Regions from separate parts of the Homo sapiens genome. Here region 2 is linked to region 1. Evidence: promoter capture Hi-C in human tissues and cell types (Jung and others, 2019). All regions are on one chromosome and are shown on one strand. The core of a region is centred on a gene start or on the middle of the fragment in contact, and the rest is flanking DNA. Distances in the headings are between cores, read along the strand shown.

Evidence for each region. The method cuts DNA at HindIII sites, captures the fragments that hold promoters and counts their contacts. A contact is called where the count stands out against the background at its distance.
Region 2: a contact is called between a fragment that was not itself captured here and the fragment with the promoter of IL31RA in region 1, in 3 of the 25 tissues and cell types used here (IMR-90 fibroblasts, stomach and thymus).

What each region holds. Positions count from the first base shown.
Region 1 is chr5:55,849,483-55,852,909 of GRCh38, forward strand. IL31RA (interleukin 31 receptor A) reads left to right here and starts at 1,875. Exons shown (of 15, transcript NM_139017.7): 1 at 1,875-2,151. The coding sequence starts at 2,089. The HindIII fragment of the contact is 16,782 bases long and covers 1-3,427 here.
Region 2 is chr5:55,786,534-55,789,960 of GRCh38, forward strand. DDX4 (DEAD-box helicase 4) reads left to right here. Exons shown (of 22, transcript NM_024415.3): 14 at 1-137; 15 at 1,313-1,467. Among named protein-coding and RNA genes, the nearest start is that of DDX4, 50 kb to the left of the region's middle. The HindIII fragment of the contact is 6,379 bases long and covers 1-3,427 here.

The DNA of each region.
Region 1 (3,427 bases), core at 625-3,124:
TATTGGACTTTAAATATATTTTCTTATATAACATTTTCTTTTTCCTGGAATTAATAATTATGCCATTTTTTGGTTTCCTTAACTTACTGAGCCGATTACTCATCCTTCTCCAAACTTTCTAAGAGTGCTGCAAAACTTTTCAAGTTTCAACATCTGTCAGATCCATTGGGTCCCCTCCATGTATTTTTTCATTGGAAATATCCCTCCTTGAGCCTGGCGTCTGCCACTCACTTGGGCTAGTTGCTCTCCAAGCCTGTTGTACTCTTATCATCTTGGGATCTCCCTTGGCCACCATTCTTGGAATTCTCTCTCTTCTATTTGAAATTTGCTGTTTTTGGGAGCCCATTTTTCCTTTTTGTTTTGGCTTATGCTCTTGTTTTTGTAGTCACTTTTTTCAATAACATCTCGAAAATGGTCACATGGGAGATAAAGTTCTTGAAACTTGGCATGTTGGAAAATGCAGTTTCAAGAACGTTGTTTTACCTTTCTTTCTGATGGATCATTTGGATGGGTAGAGCATCCTAGGTGAGAAATAATTTTCCAATAGAGTTATAAAGGAATTGATCCATTGCTTTCTAACTTCTGGTTTTGTTATTAAGTCTAAAGCCATTCTCATCCTTGATCCTTTGTATGTGACTTATTTTTTTCCTATCTGGAAACATTTTTTTTCTGTTTATTCTTGATATTCTGAAACTTCACTGTTTTGTACTTCAGTGTAGATTTATTTTCATTTATTATGCTGTTTACAGTGGGCCCTTTCAATCTGGAAACAAATGTTCCTCAATTCTTGGGAATTTTATTGTATCACTTCTCTCATTATTTCTTTCCCTCCATTCCTCTGTTCTGTGCTTCTGTACTGCTGGTAGTCAGATGTTGGCTATTCTTCATCTCTTTGTCTTTTCTTCTATCTTCTGGAAGATTTCCTCAACTTTATTTTCTAGTCTTTAGACTTCAGCTCTCATATTTTGAATCTCCAAGAGTTCTTGTTCTCTAATTATGCCTTTATCATAGCATCCTATTCATATTTTGTGGGTACAACATTTTTTCTTATTTTCTATGAAGGTTTAACTAATATTTCTTTTAAAAAATATTCTGCTTTCTGCATTGCCTTTCTTTCAAGTTTTTTCCCCCCATCTGCTGTTGGGATGGGAGAAATTTAATGAATTTGGCTTTGTGGGGTTAGGATTAGGTAGTCTATTTCTTTTTCAGATTTTCAACCAATCTTATGATTTTTGTTTCAGAGGTATAGTCAATTCTCATTATTCCTTCATTATTCCTGGCAATTATGTTCAATAAAATCGCCACAAACACTGAATTAGAAAATACTGCTGAGCGTGGTGGCTCATGCCTGTAATCCCAGCACTTTGGGAGGCCGAGGCAGGTGGATCACCTGAGGTCAGGAGTTTGAGACCAGCCTGAACAACATGGAGAAACCCCGTCTCTACTAAAAATACAAAATCAGCTGGGCTTGGTGGCGCATGCCTGTAATCCCAGCTACATGGGAGGCTGGCCTGAGGCAGGAGAATCACTTCAACCCGGGAGGTGGAGGTTGCGGTGAGCTGAGATGGCGCAATTGCACTCCAGCCTAAGCAACAAGAGCGAAACTCTGTCTCAGAAGAAAAAAAAAAAGAAAAAAAGAAAATACTGAATTATTCTCTGTGGGGGAAATATAGAGTTAGGTGCCTGTGAGCCTCTGGTCACAACATTTTTGTCAGCTAATCAATACATAACCTTGTTTTGTGTGTGTTTCTGTTTAAAGACACCTTATTTAATATACATTGTTGATTCATCAACATTGAACTCATGGCTAATAACAGTACTATGACTCATGCCTGAATAGAGCTTATTTAACACACATATTTTCTCCATGAGGCACAGCCTCCTTCTGCTTAGGAACACCAGACAGCACTCCAGCACTCTGCTTGGGGGGCATTCGAAACAGCAAAATCACTCATAAAAGGCAAAAAATTGCAAAAAAAAATAGTAATAACCAGCATGGCACTAAATAGACCATGAAAAGACATGTGTGTGCAGTATGAAAATTGAGACAGGAAGGCAGAGTGTCAGCTTGTTCCACCTCAGCTGGGAATGTGCATCAGGCAACTCAAGTTTTTCACCACGGCATGTGTCTGTGAATGTCCGCAAAACATTGTGAGTATTGATTTGGGGGGTTACAAATAATTCCTAGCAAGTAGGTGAATTCACAAATAAGGAAGCTGTGAGTAATGAGGGTTGATTTTACCTACCTAGTGTCTCAAATCCTGAGCCGTATGAGATTCCGTGGCATAATTATGTTTGCTTATTGTTGGCAACCTTATTAGGCATTTCTAGGTTTCTGCTTTCTCATCTTTACCAGTTCAGTTATGGCTTGATTCATTTCTCTTTTTCCAAAGATTTGTTGACATCTCTTATTTGCTGTTGCCTCTTCCCATTTGTTTTGTCTTGTGGTTCTATATCTTTGCCATAATTTTTGTGGAGTTTCCTGAGAGAGTAGAGATAAATGTATATGCTCAATTGGTCTTGTCTTAACCAGAATTCTATTTAATACACAACACCTTTAGTGAGCTGTTATGCATGTAATAGGTGTTTACTAAGTATTGGTTGAATAAATTCAAGAAATGCTTGCTATTTTTGTGCTAGCATTTAGCTTTTCTCTATAGTATATTATAATGGAATTTTATTTTATTTTATTTTATTTATTTTTTGAGACAGAGTTTCACTCTTGTCGCCAGGTTGGAGTACAATGGCACGATCTTGGCTCACTGCAACCTCTGCCTCCCGGGTTCAAGCGATTCTCCTGCCTCAGCCTCCCGAGTAGCTGGGATTACAGGTGCCTGCCACCATGCCTGACTAATTTTTTTGTATTTTTAGTAGAGATGGGGTTTTGCCATGTTGGTCAGGCTGGTCTCAAACTCCTGACATCAGGTGATCCACCTGCCTCAGCCTCCCAAAGTGCTGGGATTACAGGCGTGAGCCACCACGCCTGGCTGGAATTTTAAATATCTCATAATTATAATCTTCTAGGTAAAAGACTAGCTCTCTTTCTCACCCTTATTCCTCCTACTTAGTGGAACATTGCCTAAGGAAGATGGGGAATGGGTTAAAAATTAAAATGTGGGGCTGGAAAGCATAGCTTGTTTTAAAACTTAGTTTTCTTTCCTTTTGCATCATAATCTCTTCCCCGGTCTATTTATTTCTCGTGGTTTTGTCAGTCCATTACAAACGGTTGCAAAATTGTGGTACTAGAAGGGATCCTAGAAATAATCTAATTTGAACCTTTGATTGCTAGGAAACTGAGAGTCAGGCTGCCTTGGTTCAAGTCTTGGCTCCACCACCCATGTAGGACATGTTGCTTACTGTTTTGACCTCAGTTTCCTTGCCTATAAAGTGGGAATAAAAATACTCCTGATGTTATAGGATTGTTGTG
Region 2 (3,427 bases), core at 283-2,782, 63 kb before region 1:
ATCTCTGTCAGACACTGAATAACAACATTGCTAAAGCTGGTTATACTAAGCTTACTCCTGTGCAAAAATACAGTATTCCTATCATACTTGCAGGACGAGATTTGATGGCTTGCGCTCAAACAGGGTCTGGGAAGACTGTAAGTCTTTCCCCACATGTCCAAACTGTTAGGTTTTTTGAGCTTTGGTTCTTCCTTAGTAACTTGGTTTCTTCTTTTGAGTAGAAGGTTTGTAGATGGTTTCAGTTACCTGTCATAAGTATTGATGGTTTTGCTTCTGATTTTTATTAGGATTTGTGTACTTCGGAAGAAAGAATTCTGAACTATTCCTGGGGTGGTGTTGCTGTCCATAGATGTTTAATCTTTTCTGTGTGCAGCTCTTTCTGAAACATGGTAGTATCTTAAACAAAGTGACTGAAAGTCAAAGCAGAGCTTATAAAACAGAGAGGGAGAAAGTAATTTCTGTATTATAGCTGGTACACTCGAAGTCAAAAGATTAAAGAATGAGAAACAGTTATGCATTGTGCATGATTCCTTAGTATTCAGTGACCTCAGGTTATGCTAATTATAAAAGAAGTCTGATGAAACCAGTTGGTTTTAGGACTAATCTGGGAGATTTGTGTGTTAATTAACGACTCCATAAGATGAGACTCTTATTTCTATGATCATAGAGTCCATGAGGTCATACCATTTTAGTCTTAATCAGCCTTCATAGTAGAATTGTAGGGAAAAACAGGTATTGTATAGCAGCTGATGAGAGTGTTAAACGTGGTTTTGGAGGTGGATTTTAGCAAGTGTCTTATTTGCTTAAATGAGAAAACTGTAGCACAAAATTTCTGTTGCCAGATGTAACTTCAATAAGGGTAATGTGTTCAGTAATACAGATGATGATTTCTAAGTTTTTACTCTGTGGGCCACTTTTGTCATCCATTCTGAATGATAATTTTATGACCTCAAAAGGACTAACTTAGAGTAATTGTTCACTGTAATGATTTGCAGCGATTACATCTATCATATTCCTCTATAAATATGCTAATGTTGTTGATCTGTTTAGAATTCGTGGGTATGCTTTTGAAAATACACTGAAAAACTTTGATAGGTTAGATTAATTTTACCAAATTTTATATTGTATAATAAGAGCATAAAGACATAAATGTTAAGAACACCTTGAAATGAAAGTTGTTTTCATTTCTCATCTTAAATTTACCAGTAAGATGGAAGTAGAGTCTAAAGGCTATAAGGACATGAGGATTAGCTTTCCATAGGGATAAAAGTGTTGTGCTATAAGTTTGTAAACTAAGCAACTTAACTTCTAGGCGGCTTTTCTCCTACCAATTTTGGCTCATATGATGCATGATGGAATAACTGCCAGTCGTTTTAAAGAGTTGCAGGAACCAGAGTGTATTATTGTAGCACCAACTCGAGAATTGGTCAACCAGATTTATTTGGAAGCCAGAAAATTTTCTTTTGGGTAAGTACATCAGAGTGCTACTCACAAAATAGTTTTTTCTTTAGAGATTTTTTTCCCCTCACTTTTGGAAGAACTCAGTAATAATGCACTCATGTAATTTTTAGCATTACTTAAAGTATTTTTTTATTATCTTGTTTATGGAATCCTTTTCATTTTTGAAAAGAAATATGCTTATTAAAAATTAGGTTAATAGGTTGGACTTGGTGGCTCATGACTATAATCCCAGTGCTTTGTGAGGCCCAGGCAGGCAGACTGCTTGAGGCCAGGAGTTCGAGACCAGCCAGGGTAACATGGCAAGACCCCATCTCTACAAAAAATAAAATAACTAGCCAGCATGTGGTGATGCACACCTGTTGTCCTAGGAGTTTAGGAGGTTGAGGCAGAAGGATTGTTTGAGTCCAGGAGTTTGAGGCTGCAGTGAACTGTGATTGCACCACCACACTCAGAGCGAGACCCTGTCTCCAAAAAAGTAAAATTTTAATTTAAAAAACAGATAATACTAGAAGTAGAAAATAGTGAACATACTGGTATTATTTCTTGGTAGTTTTTAATGTATATTTAAAAATGAACTCAGGGTATTCTAATAATTTCCTATTCTTTTACATAAAACTTTATAACACAGAAAATTCTTATTTCATAATAAGAACTGATTTTTAATGACTTTTAAATTGCCCATGTGTATACATTTTATTTCTCTGTTCTGAGGTATTTAGGTTCTTTCTAACTTGGGGCTATTGTAAACAAAATTGCAATGTACATCTTGCTACATAGTTTTTCTGTTTTGGCCAGATATGATGTCTTACACCTGTAATCCTAGCACTTTGGGAGGCCAAGATGGGCAGATAGCTTGAGCCCAGGAGTTCAAGACCAGCCTGGAAAACATGGTGAAAACCCATCTCTACAAAAAAGAACAAAAACTAGCTAGGTGCAGTGGTGCACCCCTGTAGTCCCAGCTACTTGGGAGCCTGAGAGATTACCTGAGCCTGGGAGGTCGAGGCTGCAGTGAGCTGTGATTGCGCCACTGCATTCCAGCCTAGATGACAGTGAGACCTTGACTTATATATAAAAAAAACCAACAGTTTTCTGTTTTAAGTATTTTCTTAGAATAGAGTTTTATCAATTTTAATGTTAAAGAGCAGGAACTTATTTTAAAGCTTGTAATTAATGTATATTTGTGCCTGCAGTCTATCAGAAGTCCAATTTCAGTATACCCTTTGCCAACATTTAGTTATCGCTGCCTAACAAACTCCCTTAAAACATAGTTGCTTTCAACAATAAACATTTACTGTCTCACCATTTTGGGGGCTTAGGAATTGGGGAACAGCTTGGCTTAGCTGGGTCCTTCTGAGTTAAGAGTTTCTTATGAGATTGTAAACGAGATGTCAACCAATTCTGGTTTTATTGTCAACCAGACAAGATGTCAAGGCAGTCATCTGAGGGCTTCATTGGATCTCTCCATAGGGATGCATGATTAAATGGCACTGGCTTCCCCTAGATTAAGTGATCAGTAAGAACAAAGAGGAGGCTGTAATAGCTTTTATGAAATAGTCCCAGAAGTCACACATTGTCCTTCTGCCACATTCTCTTTGTAAGAAGCAAGTCACTAAGTTTGACCCCACTCAGGAGTGGCTATATTATAATTTATTGGAACTAGTGCAAAATTGAAAGTGCAGGGTCCTTTGTTGTAAAATTATTACAAATTTCAAGGCAGCGACAACAGAGCATTAAATGAAACACGGGATTCTTCTGAACTTGGGACTCTGTGTGACTGGACAGGTTGCACACTCATGAGGCCAGCCTTACCCACACTGAAGGGGGAAGGTAGAATCCATATTTGAAGGAAGGAATATATTGAAGAATTTGTATATGTATGTTAAAACCACCACAGGTGATTTTATTCTTTTCCATGCTTGAAATCACTTTAATATCAAACCTGATAGATCTTTTGGAAAAACATGTG